Linked DNA regions of Homo sapiens: region 1 is linked to region 2. Evidence: promoter capture Hi-C in human tissues and cell types (Jung and others, 2019). All regions are on one chromosome and are shown on one strand. Each heading gives the region's core, a stretch centred on a gene start or on the middle of the fragment in contact. The rest is flanking DNA. Distances are from core to core; before and after follow the strand shown.

The links. The method cuts DNA at HindIII sites, captures the fragments that hold promoters and counts their contacts. A contact is called where the count stands out against the background at its distance.
Region 1: a fragment that was not itself captured here is called in contact with the fragment with the promoter of IGF1R in region 2 in 1 of the 25 tissues and cell types used here (hippocampus).

The regions. Positions count from the first base shown.
Region 1 is chr15:97,966,472-97,973,726 of GRCh38, reverse strand. It overlaps ARRDC4 (arrestin domain containing 4), which reads right to left. Exons shown (of 8, transcript NM_183376.3): 4 at 5,611-5,713; 5 at 4,348-4,604; 6 at 3,682-3,844; 7 at 2,984-3,138; 8 at 1-2,596. The coding sequence ends at 2,540. Among named protein-coding and RNA genes, the nearest start is that of ARRDC4, 9.4 kb to the right of the region's middle. RefSeq lists an enhancer at 2,116-3,315. The HindIII fragment of the contact is 4,565 bases long and covers 941-5,505 here.
Region 2 is chr15:98,642,404-98,650,184 of GRCh38, reverse strand. It overlaps IGF1R (insulin like growth factor 1 receptor), which reads right to left and starts at 1,646. Exons shown (of 21, transcript NM_000875.5): 1 at 510-1,646. The coding sequence starts at 603. IRAIN (IGF1R antisense imprinted non-protein coding RNA) reads left to right here. Exons shown (of 1, transcript NR_126453.2): 1 at 1-4,322. RefSeq lists silencers at 1,622-1,891, 2,262-2,321, 2,382-2,851, 2,862-2,911 and an enhancer at 2,923-3,544. The HindIII fragment of the contact is 5,713 bases long and covers 1-3,712 here.

The sequences.
Region 1 (7,255 bases), core at 1,974-4,473, 680 kb after region 2:
AAGAAAGCTTTCATAGTTAACTTACCAAAAACATAACGCTTGCCTATTGTTTCTTACTGTGCAAAACAAAAACAAAGTTTTGCCCACAGAAGGATTTTGTGCACCAAAACATGCACATTTTCAATTTCAAAATTTCTGCATCAAAATGAAAATTCCAAGGCCACGTTTTTGTTTTTTCAAACTAAAGAAGAGCAAGAGGGGAATAACCAAGCAAATAACAGCAGCTACATTTTTAATCTTCATTCCCAGGTATTTTCTGTTTCAATGTAGAATTCTCCACATTCATAAAATGATATCTTCAACCTACTGCTTACAGTCAGATATGCCAGTATCATTTCAATAAGGCAAGTCACACCTTTTAGCTATTCTCTTAAGTCCTACAGAGATAGTTTCACTTCAATTTCACAGGGACACTTCATGATTTATCTAATAAAGGTGATAAGACAATCCTAGTGAAGGATTCCTTTAAGTTGTTGCTTTTCTAGATGGAACCAAATAATTAAACTTTCTCTTCTCCATACTGGAGTTTGTTTCTTTCATTATGTTTTAGTATCATGGAGTCGAACAATGCCTTGGCAGGGCATGAACTATATAACTCAGAAGTCAATAAACAGTTGAAGATGATCTTTTCTAAAGTAAAAATCAACTGTTTAGACAACACTTAAATACACATTACCTGTTTAAAGACACACACACGAAAGCAAAATTTAAAAACCAAATCAAGGAATAACGTTTTGTGACAATTTCAGTAGCACAATTACTGGTCTAACAGTTTTGCATTGTGGGAATTTAAATAGCGGCTTACAATGAAAGAACTATGCACGATGCTTCCAGGATTGCAGAGGAGAGAGGTAAGCCCAGAGGATGAAAAGCATACATTTGCCTAATGTGTGTAGAAAATTCCCTGATCAAATGGCCAACTAACTTTTAAATACAAAATTTAACCTTAGAAGAACTTTTCTATTTTTGGTGAACATGCTGATTGAAAGAAAAATCAATCATTCTGTTAAATGAAGTACAGTATTCTGCAGGGGAAGCACCAGGGTTTCTGGATCAAACCCTTAGGACATGAAGAAAACCAAAGTACTCTGCTGGTTCAAAATCTGTATCACAGGAATCCCTGGCTCCCTTCCATGTGTCCAGAGATGCTCTCAGCTCACAAAACCAACAGATGGAAGGAAAAGCAAGTGAACATGTGACCATGTGGGAGGGGGGCTGGGGACGGTAAAACACTGCTCAGACTTTCAGCAGCAACACAATCCTGTTGGTCTGAATATCCTGAGGTTAAATGATAATAAAATATTGCACCAACACAATAAAGAAAATCACAGTTTAAACAGAATTACTGAAGAACTGGAATAATGTACAATGCAGTGACTGCCATCAGTAGACCTAGGTCTCTTGACAGGAATTAAAGTTGTGTCTTTTCTAAAAATGGCACTCCTACCTTCTTTTGGTTTGGTGTTTATTTTGACATTCTCTTAGGTATACATATATTTACTTCCATTTAACGCTAACTTACTGAATTTTCCCCTTGGCCCAGTTTCATATTTAGTGATAGATGAGACTGTGGCTGTAAACAGCAGCAACTCCCAAGAAGAGTACTCAGGGCGAGAGATTTAAAAACATATCTGATAACCCCATTAGAGGTAGGTTAGAAAAAGGCCTTTTATTTGGGACTGTGTAGTTATCAAGGCATCCTGCAGATGCAACCTTTTCTCTCCCTTCTTTCTCTTACATGCTCCTAGGTAAATAAGATATGAGGAAAATCAAACGTATATCCTGTTAAAGCACTTAAAGGGGGTAAAAAGTACAGCCCTCAACAAAACGTGTTTTCACATTGAAATTCATCTTTCCTCTTTGAACCGACAAGCTTTTCAAGAAACCCTTTCTTGGTTTCATAATACCGTACTGCCGATTTATAAACTATATTTTAGTCTACCCTTGAAAGAATGAAAACTGTAGTACTTCATTAGGACCTCATATGACCATGATCTCAAGAAAAGATGCTTTTTCAATGTCTTTAGGCCTGAATATGGTAGGAAATCATGAAGCACCCAAAGACTCAGGATCTCACTTCGTATTTGGAGTGGGCCATTCTCCTATGCACACACACCCTTGTTTTGTTGCCCTCTCCAAAATCAAGTCTTCACCCCTTCAGTTCATATCGCCTTCGTTCCACTCTTCACCATGGGAAACTCCCACAGTGTTTCCACTGTTTACAGATTCCTTTCTCTCACGTCAGCGCAGGCACCCTTTCACTTACTCTGTAACCATCAGGACTTCCATTACATTCTGTGACTTTGCACATCTTCATCCCAGTTTTTAACAGGGATATATATACGACCATCATATAAACTTGTGCGGCAATCCTGCCGGCCCACCAGAACTTTCTCACATTCTTTAATTTCTATTGCCTTCAGTCTTGACGTTCATTTATGTTTTCAAGTGAATCTTTCCTGTCTCTTTCCCAAAAAGGCAGAAGGAAAAGAACCAACATTCTAATTTGATGATGAACACAGTGATTTCTGAAATACGTTCAGAGAATGAAGGAAACAGGCTGGCTCTCTTCTACGTCGCTAGGATGTGGGTCAACCTGCAAAAAAAGAGCGGACTGAGATTAGTGTTGTAGCATTATTTAAAACGATTCTAGTACCTATTTGTAATTATATGATGGTTATATGCCAAGCTGGTCAGAGCCTGTGTAAGTCCCAGAAGGTGCTTAAGTTCTCTATATTCCATGGCCAAATAACACACCTTAAAGGCAATCCACAATACTGTATCTGATGCCATAGATCACAAGGACAATAGTAAAAAAATCTGGCAAATGAATCAGCGATAATCTATTACCACTGTATAAACAAATTTAAATGTATCCCTTACTAATTATGAGTCAGCAACAGACACTCTAATGAACGGATGACAAAAAATGATTATTTGAAAATAATACAGTAAAAGTCTAATTTTCTTTTGCTTTGCTTACCTCTGAATAAAGAGGTGGGGGTTGAAACCGGAATTCTTGTATACAGGCAAACACAGGACAGCACACTTCTCCCTCACAGTTAGGGGGTTGAGGGTAAGGAGGAATGTGTCTAGAGAATTCTTCCTCTGATACCACATCTGCATAATTTGGTGGTGCTGAAATAGAAATGAAGTTGGAGTTAAGAAATCCACTCAAAAATTAATCTCGATTCTTAACTGCTACAAAAACAAGAAACAGCTAAACTTGAAGATAAAAAATATGGCATTCTTTCCCTCTAATCAGCAAGGTTTTATGCATATTACAATAAAAAATAGATTCTCCTTTTATTAAACTACTACTAATAGCTTCTATTCTAGTCTCTTGAGATATAGGTAAACAAATATCACTGAAATATGACTATAGAAAAGACATAACACACCATACATTTGACTGTTTTTCATTGTTTTCCTATTACAAATAGGAATTAGGAAATGTACATCTTATTCCTGAATCTGCTATCAGCAGCTTTGCGTCCTAGATAAAGCTAAACTTTCAAAGTCCCTCCCAGGACTAATGCTTTCTGATTTTTTAGTAGTAGGAATAAAGATACCTATAGTAGCAGTACTCATCAACATCTGAGCACTTAATAGTGTATATATTCTGTTCCTAGGTATTTTCTAGGTAAAGCTTCGTTATGAAAGAACGCCAACATATTTTACCTTCAGGCTGCTCTGGCAGGGTCAGTGTCAACCAGCTCATATCCATACTGAACTGGCTGGCAATGCTGGAGTTTCTGCTGCCAAAACCATTATATGGAATTGTACCGATCACTAATGGCAGTTCGAGCATCAATTTTTTAGCACCAGGAATGTGAATGTATACCTAATAAGCCAAAAAAAAAAAAAAAAGAGAAAGGAACAAATGTAAGCTACACCTCCAGTAGGTAGCCCAATTAATTTCTTTTTTTCATAGAAACAAATGCTTTTGTCGGCTGCCACCACCCCCATCACAATTCTCAATTGTCTTGATTAAACAAAATGAAGAGTACACAAAACATAGTGAATGCTCTGTGACAGAGAACTGTGTCCTTAACATGCATCATTGTAGGTTTGCATGGCTTATATAATAATTATAGAAAATTAAGGCTATGTCTTCAATATAACAAACACCCCTTAATGCACCTCAATTCTTTTATGGCATTCTATTAAATCCCCTGTGGGGAATAGGTTTTATTAAAAACAAGGGCCAATCTTCATACAGTCCCCAATTGGTGTTAATGCTGAAATAAAATGACATTTTTATAGGCAACTCTACATACCCACAGTAACATGACATCAGTTATTGTCCATCATACACATTTTTTTTTAAAAAAGAGCTTTGCTTACAGCTAAGGAATAGTCCACTCTGATAATGCAGCAATCCAGGATGGATGGAGTAACAGGTGGGATTTTTAGCGTTTTCCCATTCCATGTGTCTGTGCTCCCAGAAGCGATGTGGTTTCCTCGCACATTGGCGACCATGTGTCGAATGGTCTTTGTTTTTCCACTAGCCAAATATGTCTGCGTTTGGAAAATAGCAGCCTTTGGAACAATCAGACGAGAGGAACAATTTTCTATTTCTGCATAGATTGGAATAGCTTCTCCTAAAAAGAAAACAAAACCAGGGAGGATTCAGAGACTCTTGAAAAAGTTCTCACCACAATGGATTAGGGCCGTATAGCTGAAATGTTCCAACATCACTTTAACAAATTGAGAAGCTTTGATGGAAAACATATTGTAAATTCAAGCCAGAGAAATAAAAATTCACTGCAGGTTGTGGTAGATCTTATTTTCTAATTATTGCATTATTGACTTTTCTAAAGTAGCAATATTGCATTAGCAATTCTAAAGATATGTAAATGACCAGTGTCTATATAAATTAGGATAAGACATACAAATAAATGATTCAGGACTATGTTAAGTATAAAAGATCACTAACAAACTCATTAGTGCTTATCAAATTAAAATCTGCCTAACAGGAGAACAAAGCCTTTGCTTTTAAGGAATTAATAATGTTAAGGCACAGAAAGAATCAACGGATGGATTAGGCAAGTTTTATAACATTATGGCTGCACATCATACCATTCCATACTGAATTCCTTTCTAACAAGTCAGAATCCTGGAGCAGGGGCCAAATCCACTGCTGGAAATGGGCCCTTCACTAATGGCAATTCCAGTAACAATCTGATTGTTAAGTTTGTTAATACACTACATTCCAGTCCCATGCATTTGCATATATCAAGCCAGCATGGAATCAGAATGTCTAATAGCATTTCATACTCCAGTAGTTCTCTTTTTAGCAATACAACCCTGGAGATTCTTTTGCAACATTAAAATCAGATGCTGGCATTTTCTCATTCCTCTAGTTATACTCTTTGTTACTAAAGTAACAGGATTGAAGTCAGAAAAAAAACAGGAGTTTGACTGGAAACAATTCCTCCTTTTAAAAATACTTAAATATCAATTATTTATATAAAAAATGTATCACTATTCATGTTTTAAAATACTATACACGTCATATAATTACAAAAAACACTATTTAAAATCACTTAAAATTAGCTAAGAAAATGAATGAAATCTTTCATTTGGACTTTCAAGCATTTTGCTTACCATTACAGTATCCCTTTCTTTCAATTTTGGCACTCAGCGAGACTGGACCAGAAGTGAAAAACCAACAGCCAACCATTTTCTCTTGAGTTTTCAATACAGGGGTCTTGAAAATTTCAAACAATAAAACAACCTTAATTAAGCCACTCTAGAGAACTCATAGAACTTAAAATTATATCTATCTTCACAGAATGGTTGTAAGGAAATACCAAAAAAATGAATCAAACTTTCTTATCCTCATGTAACATATTAGGCCAAATATGCACAAAAACACAGGGTGTTAAGACTCCCCTTTTAGGAAAACTACAGTGAATTTTCAGATTCAAAAATTAGCATGACACCATCTTATTTTACCCTGAAGTCATTATGTTTCCAGGAAATAATATACCATTTTTTTAAAAAAAAATCAAAAGCTGTATTAGGACTTATAAACATGACAGAATTATTTTTAAGACTTTATATATAAAAGTCAGGTGGAAGGATAAATGATATAAAAATAAAAAATAATCAGAACATTATATTTATTTTGGCATTTAATAAAGTGGAATAAACAAACAGCCTTTTCCCACCACTTACTTCAAAATGCATTATCAAGCAGAAATTTCATGTGTTCTTAATTTGGAGTGGTTTTGGGGTTTTGTGTAATAGTGCAATAACATGTGTAGTGTTAACCGATCTGAAAAGCTTATTAAACATACCCTCTCACTGCAGTATTCTATTCTATAGTGGCAAGAGAAGTTACTACAAGATTTACAATGTTCAGTTTACGAGTTACACACACCAAAGCTTTCTGTAAAACCCAGTTACTTGCAATATTTTTTTTTTATTTATATAAAGAATCGTAAGGGATCAACAGTGTCTGTTTTTGGCAAAGACAAATCCCTTTAAATCAATTCCCACAATGGTCATAAAAACTTTAAAAATATTCAGCCTCCCAATTCTAAGTAGTTTTTAAAAATACAAGCTACTTGGCATCACCAATTTTTCAAAAATGGTTTTCAAGCGGCTGTTAAAGTCCCAGCTATAAGCCAGGCCAGCTGGGTGCCGGCTGTTTTATGATTCTGACCACAAGAGGCCATGGAACCACAGCATATCTGCTATCTTTTCATAATCTAAAGGTGAACATTAAATTCTATTTCTTTCTCATGCGAAAATAAGACTTAAACAACAACTTCTAACTGCTAGCTTTTTCCTTGTCTTTAAAAACACAGGCTAGAAAAACCTCCAACATGAAAAATACATCTTTGTCACATCAGTATCGTGATGGAAAGTTTAAATTATCTCAGTATTTTCTATGAAGTAAAAAAAATCATTCATTCATATTTAAATGAAGAACCATTAGGTCCTAGTAGCTATCATGAAAGTACAAGGTATAATTTTATATTATTTTGATAATATGGGTTTAGATAAAAGAATCTAGCTCATTAGCTCCCATCTTGCCTATTCTGTTGTTACTTATAGCCTGATCTTTCTTATCAGTCTACAGTATTTCTGGTGATTATTAGAAGTTCAATGCTTTAATGTGGCCAAATCTGTCATAAGGAAATGATAAGTGAAAGGATCTCGGCGGCAGCTGCATGCACTTACTTAATGTTAGAAAATGACATGCAAAATGGAAGGATACATAGCATAATGGCCTGAGCTTCAA
Region 2 (7,781 bases), core at 397-2,896:
CTCGCACCCCGCGGGCCGGGCGGCTGCCCGCTCCCCACTGCCCGGTCAGCCCCAGCAGCGGAGACGCGGTGCGGCCCAGGGTGCTGTCGCTGCTGCCTGCGCGCCGCAGGGGATCAGCGCTGTGTGCGGAGAGGCTCTTGCGCATGGAAGGGGCGAGGTGCGGGTCGCGGGGCCCGGGAACCGCGGAGCCCGCCCCGGCACCAACTTCCCTACCGAGTCCTCGCGCCTAGCCGGGAAACACGGCTGGGCTGTCAGGACGGAGAAAGAGAAAAGCCCTTCCCGCGCGGGGATGCGCGGAGCCAGGGCCCGCGGGGCTCCAGACGAACGAGCCCGGGTCCCGGGTCCGCTGCAGCCTCCCTCCCGGCAGAGCCGCCCTGCGCCCCACCCCGCCGCTCCCGAGCCCGGGGGCCCGACAGCTGCGACGGTGGCAACTCGGGTTTCGCAAACAGGGCGCAGCCCCTCGGAGGAAAAGTTCCCGCAGTGGCCGCGGGCGGCGGGCACATACTCACTTTCTCCACTCGTCGGCCAGAGCGAGAGCGCGGCGGAGAGAAACAGGAGCCCCCACAGCGAGGTCGGGGACCCTCCTCCGGAGCCAGACTTCATTCCTTTTATTTGGGATGAAATTCCCCTTTCTCAAAAAAAAAAAAAAAAAAAAAAAAGAAAAGAAAAGAAAAAAAGGAAATGAAAGGAAACAAGTCTCAAACTCAGTCTTCGCTCCCCCTCCAAAAACAAGGGCGAAGGAAACAATACTCCGAAGGCGGCGCCGCCGGGGCCCTCCGGGTGCGCGGACGGGGCGGGCGGCGCGGGGCGGCCCCTCAGCGCCGGCAGCAGCGGCCCAGGGCTCGGCGGAGTCGGGAACCCGAGGCGCGCCGGGGCGGGCTGTCGGCGTCGTCGGCCTCCATTTTCAAACCCGGAGAGGCAGGAAGGGGGGAAAACTGCAAAGAAAGGGGGCAAAGCCCAAATCTGCCTAGGCGAGGAAAAACAAGCCCGGCCCTGGCCGCGCGGGAGGCGGCCGGACGCCCGAGCTTCCGCCGCGGGAGGGCGCGACGCAGTTCGCAAGATCGCCCCGAAGTCCGGGTCACAGGCGAGGCCGGCGAGGGGCAGAAACGCGGAGTCAAAATGAATGAGCGGCTCCCCCTCCTCCTCCTCCTCCTGGCTCCGCTCGCCGCCGCCTCCTCCCTCAGCGCCGCCGCCGCCGCGGCGAGCTCCTTCCCAAATCCAGGACACACACAAAGCGGCGGGCCGGCCGCGCCGCGCTCAGCACTCCCGCCGCGCCGCCCGGCTCTGCGCCGCCGCCCGCCCCGCGCCGGCCCCCGCCCGGCCCCCGCCCGCCGCCGCCTGCTCTGCGCGGGGGCTCCGGCTCGCTGAAGGTCACAGCCGAGGCGAGGCGCGCCGTGGAGCTGCCCCCGCGCGGGAGGGGCGTGGAGGGCGCGGGGGGATCCGGGGAGCGGGGCCGAGGGTCTGCGAGCGCCGGCCGTGGGCAGGCTCGCTGGCGGCGTCCCTCTCGCTCTCCCGCCTCTCTCGAGTTCGCCTGGTGCGCTCGCTCCTCCTCGGGTTTTTTCCCTTTTTTTTTCCGCTCAGCGGAGTTAATGCTGGTAAACAAGAGCCCCAGCCTCGCCGCGCCGCCGCCGCCGCTGCCACACACTGGGGGCTCGCGCGCGCGCGCGCGCCCTGGCCCGCGCACACGCGCCCGCTCGCACACTCGAGCGGCCACCGCCGCAGCAGCGGCGCGCCGAGGGCCCGGCCCAGGCCGGCGCGCGCAAAAAACCGGAGCCCGGTTCCCCAAGACGTGCGGAGCGGAGCCCGGGCGTGGGGCGCGAGACTGCGAGGCGCCGCCCCCATCTCCCGCCCCACCGCCTCCCGCGCGCACACAGAGACACGCGCGCGTGCCCACCCGCTCCCGCCCCCACCGCACTGCGCCGGCCACCCCGCACGCGCCCTCCCCTCCCGCCCGACTCCAAAAACAATGCCCCCGCCGCCGGTCCGGTCTCGGCGGGGCAGGGGTGGGTAGCCAGGGAAAGGCTAGGCAGGGGAGGGGTGGGCAGGAGAGGGGAGGGGTGGGCGGGGAGTGCGGGGCTGGGAGAGGTTCATTGAAAACAACAACAGCGCGGCTGGAAAGCGCGTTTCCCCGGTTCTTGAAAAGCTTCATTGTTTCTTGCAGCTGTTGCAAAATAAATAAATGCGTGCATGCGGCATTTTTTTCGCTGCGTACTGGAAAGCCCGAACGTGGCGGAAGGGGCGCACCTGGGAGAAAGGGGACCCCCCCCCCAGGCTACTACGCCGGGCACTTTCACGCCAGGCTGGGGTGCCCGCGGCGTTGCGACCGTGGAGCCCGGAGTTTGGGGGCTCAGGGGGAGCGGAGGGGGAAGGGCGCGGCCCGTGTGGCTCGGCCCAGAGTGGCTCGAGGAGAGAGGACCCCGCCGCCCCTCGCGGGCCCCGCGCCCCGGAAGGGGGGCCCAGACAGGCAGCGCCGCGTGCCCCGGGCGCGTCCCCGCGGCGGCCGCCAGAGGGCGCGGCGGGCGCTGGGGAGGGCAGCCCGCGGAGAGTCGCCTCCCTCCCTCCGGGGGAGGAAATGTGGGGGCCCGGGCTGGGGGCCGACTCGGCTGGGTCGCGCTGGCGTGGCCTCCCGGACCAGCCGCCCGCCCTGAGCGCTCTCCGCGGCCTCGCGCAGCTCAGGGCTCCACCACGTGGGCGGCTGCGGGGAGCGGCCGGGGCGCGTGCACGCTGCGGGTCTCCGAAGCTCGGGGGGCGTGTCCGGGTCCCGGGGCGCCGAGGAGGGGGTGGAGGCTGGGGCCGGGAAGCCTCCCTTGGCCGCGGTCCCGACCCGGGAACACGCCGCATGCACTCGGGATCAGCGGCTACTGCGGAAACCCACCCGCACCTGTCTCGGGTCCTCCCAGGCACGTTCCTCTTGCTTCGTTTGCTACGTAAGTGACTGGAAACCAGTACCGACCCTAAGTCTCCGCGGTTGTTTTCTTGAATGTGCAGGAGGAGAGGTTTCCCCAAAGCGAGACTCCCCTAGGACTGCCATCTAATGAATAAATGCTGCGGAGACCAGGTCCTCAAAGAGGGAAACAGCCCAGCAGTGGCAGGAGAGAGGAGTTTGAAATACGTGGACTTTTACAAACAGTGATTGGACCATGTGTCGCCCTTAATGTGGTCCGGTTTCATGACTCAGGCTAATTGATGCCAGTAATAAATTTTTTTAAGATAGCTAATAAAAGAGTTGTGAATTGTCGAGATAAGAAGTGGTTGTCTCAAACAATCGGGTAGGATGGTAGAAGGGACCTGATGTAAAGGAAGGTAGTAGGTTTCTTTTACTCTCTAATTCTAAAATACTTCTGCATTAGAACGTGTATCCATCGTTCGTAAATAATTTTTTAAGAGCTGAAAACAAGTCAAAAGCTATCATAACGGAAACTTAGCCCTTTTTTTCTAAAGTTGTTTCCTAGATCATTTTCCTCCTTGGAAATTTCTAGCTCAATTCAGAGTCAGTTGTATAGAAAGAAAATAAACCTTGTTTTACCTAAGAAAGTTATTCATATGATGGGATGGTTTTGTTTAACTGAAATTCAGCTTGATTTTTAAATAAAGAGTTTCAGTTTTGGATGTTCCTAGATTTAACAGTGAAATAAATTTATTAGAATCTTAAAATGTATTATTTAAAAATTAGGCACTACACATGAAGAATTAAAGTCCAGTCTACTAATTTTTAAATATTTCTTAAGTTCTCTGCATGAGGTTGGTCTTGATTCCTGCAGATCCACTCTGGAGTTAAATGCAAAGGAATATTGATATATAATTTCATTATACTTGATTTCAGAATTTTTAATACATACTTGTAAGACAAAAATTTAGAGCTGATTTTTAAAAGGCTAGTGCTAATATAAAATCTTCAAATACTACCCAATGTATTTTTAGTATTAGTAATAAATATGCCTGTTTATTTGTCCCCAAGAACATAAAGAGGTCTATAGAATTTTTAAATGTATATAGGTTGTTGTAGGGGTTGTAGGATTTGTTTTTGTGTGTTTTTTTTTTACTAAAATGATTTTTATTTGTGAATTTTTTAAATGTTTGTGTTTTCCTGAAGTAGTAGGAAATCAATCGTATTAAGTTATTTTAAACAGTGAAGTGGGAGATGTATCATTATATAGCTTAATATTTAGGGAAAAAAAAGGAACAAAAATTTAGGTTGTCTTTACGCTCTAACTTGACCACATGGACAAAGGAGGTGATTTGTATTTCTTCAATGATTATATTTTACATACACAAGTCAAACTTATTTTTTCAACCTTGAAATAAAATCATGTAGACAAAAATTAATTGGAGTCTTTGCTTTATACCCACATTGACAATGCACCAAACTTTTTATTTTATACCATTTTACTCAGGTATCTTATAGGTTCTCCCTCTTTTGGAGCAGAAACTGATTGCTTGTTTTCATTTTTTAAAAACGCCGTTTACTTGATAACAGTTTCATCTCAAATTATTCTGCTAAATGTACCAGACTCCCCAAAAAATGTAATGTATATCATATACATCAAGTGCAAACGTGAGAAACAGCACAACAATTGACAAGTATCAAGTAATACAGTATATTGTGATGTATTCGCAGAAAGGAATGTTAGCAGCAAAAGTGAATAAACTACAGCCCCACACAACATGGGCAGATCTTTGAAACACACTGAGTAAAAATATACAAATATCAAAAACGCACACAGCGTAACACCATTTTGATAAAGCTCTTAAAAAGCAAGGAAAACTTTAAAAGTTACAGAAAATTTTTTTTGCTTTAAATAATAAAATAATATTTTTCCTTTGTTTTGCTTTTGTTTTAGCAAAAGAATTAATGAAGGATGTGAATTCCTTTGGAGAGGATGAGAAGCCCATAGGCACATGGGTTTCCATTGTAATTTGGAAATGAGTTCACTCTTGGATTGAGTGACGGATTTACAAATTTCCATTTTATAAGTATGCTTAATAACTAACACATGTTCTACATATTTTTGTATGTATAAAACATTAAAGAAGATAAATAAAAATATGGGAGAGATCCATGAAAGAGATCATTCTGGTTTTCCAATGGGAGTCGTTCAGATTTCGAGCTGTCCGTATAAATAACTCAGAAGCATTAAAGATCTACTAAAATAACACAGTTAATCAAGGTCTGATCCTTAAGATATTTCAGAAGAATGTCCACACATCTAATATCGATGCAATTTAAGACAAAAATCAAAAGACAAAAAATTTAAAAGACCTCACTTCACAGGTAATAAGCTTCATTAAGAGTGCATTATGTCAACTGTTTGACAGTTTCTTATAAGGTAAAACATACAACTAACTTACGATCCAGCAAGTCTAGCCCTAGTTATTTACCCAAAAGAAATGAAAATTCCACAAAAATACTTCTATGGGAATGTCAATAGGTGCTTTGTTCATAATAGCAAAAACTAAAACAACCCAAATGTAAATCAAAAGGAGAATGGATAAACAAATCATGATATATCCATTCAATGCAATACTGCTTAGCAGTAAAAAGGAATGGACTACTAATCCATGCAAAAACATAAATGAGTCTCCAAAGCATAATGTATAAGCCAAAAGAGTACATACTGTATTAGCTCATTTATGTAAAGCTCAAAAACAGGCAAGATTGATCTAGAGCTAGAAATCAGAATCATGGCTGCCCTGGGTGGGTAGAGAGGGAAAGTTTCAAATGACTAGGGAGAGGCATAAAGAACTTTCTTGGGTGATGGCAATGCTCTATATCTTGATGGGGTGTTGGCTATGCTAGTATATGCATTTAGCAGAAACACATCAGACTGTACACTTAAGATGGGTGCACTTCATTCTGCATAATTGTATCTGAATGTTAAATTGTTAAGATTGTATTATAATTTAGATAGTTGCAGCTGTTCTAAAAAAAATGTTAGCACAATGCTTCCCGTTTTTACTATTAGGTGAGTTAGTAGAGATGCTAAACTCCAACATCCTTGCCCACAGCTGTCTACAGATGTGTATACTTTCAGTGTGTATCTGCCTAAGGTCTTTCCTTAGGGGCATTAGCTGTGGAAGGCATCACATGGTCTCCACAGAGCACCCCAAGGGCAGGAAAAATACAAGTGATGCTGTAGCTGATTCCTATCCCCACACAGCCACAAGCAACAAGAGTCTCAGTCTTGTTGAGGATCTGTTTATACTCAACTTGAGAAGATTTTCTATTTTAGCTCTGCATAGATAGCTGGCTCCCAAGGCATAAATGCTACATTTCTCCATGATGCTTTAAAAGCAACGTGGAGGTTTCAGAGAGCATTTGCGCAGAGACAGCTGAGATAATGTCTTCCTGTGACTAACTTTCGGCACCACGTTCAGTAAAACATCAATCGGGGAAGTTCCTGGAAAGCCCAGGCCTGGGCCAAGAGTGATAGGCACCCTGGAGATCTCCGTGGGTCCAAAATGGAAACTGGAGGCTTCTGGGGCTCCACCACTACCCTGAGCATCGTCACGAGCCTGTCCCCGACCTGAGGGTGGGTATGTTCAACTCCCCACATGGTAGTCTGGGAAAATAAACCCGACCAGGATAGCTGTAACGGCTCTGTCTTTTTCACTTGTCATTTGCGGTGGTTAGTCTCTGAGATGGGTGTGCCGTCTTCACTCCTCCATGTAATTAACTTTCAAACATATCAATAGTAAGGATCCCTGTCTGGCAGACAGTACAAAAGATGCTTCTTCGTTGTTGAAATGCATCATAGATGTACATGAAAAGTGGGGTTAAATCAAAATTTCTGTTCCCTCTGATTAATGCCACCAGCTCTGAGATGTTTTATCAGCAGCATGCCAGGAAGAGACAAGCTGCTCCTCTGCCCTACCCCGCCCTACTCTGCAAAGCTGTGTGACTCTGTGCAAGTGGCTTCACCTCTCTCTTTTCTCCTCTATGAAATGATCATGTTGACGTTGACCATTCCGCTCTAAAATATGACTTCTTTTTTTGATTTTTAATTGACAGTGGTACCTTGATATCTCATACTTTGGTTGTACATTTTGTACTTTTGCCTTCTCTGTCAAGTAATTAATAAATCTATAAATTAATACAGGCAACAGCAGCCAGGCTCAGGGAATAAACGCTTCCTAATTTGTTTTATTAATACAGATTTTTCACACATTAGAGGTTTTTTTTCTTTTCTTTTCTTTTTTTTTTTTTTTTTTTTTTTTTTTTTGAGACGATCTCACTCTGTCACCCAGGCTGGAGTGCTGGAGTGCAGTGGTGCAATCTTGGCTCCCACCTCAGCCTCCTGAGTAGCTGGAACTACAGGAGTGTGCCATCACACCCAGCTGTTTGTTTGTTTGTTTTTAATAGAGACAAGGTCTCACTATGTTGCCCCGGTGGGTCTGAAACTCCTGGGCTCAAGCGATCCACCCACCTTGGCATCCTAAAGTGCTGAGATCACAGACATGAGCCACCATGCCCAGCCAGGGTTTCTTAAAGTATAGCATAAAATATTTTTTAGCAGTTTTGAATTTCAATATATTTTCTCCTAAGAATGTGAGTATGGAAAGACAAACAGAAACATCAGCAAGGCAGGGGGAAGTGGTCACAGGTAACCCACAAAAGGGATCCTTCAATTGATCATTGAGAATGTTCCTGCAAAACATTCTCTTTGGGATATTAAGTTCTAGTGGAACCTTATTCTGTAGAATATATTTGCACATTTCTTCAGTACATTTTTAAATGCAACATCATTGTGTCAGGCTCCTTACTAGCAGCAAACTCTATTTCT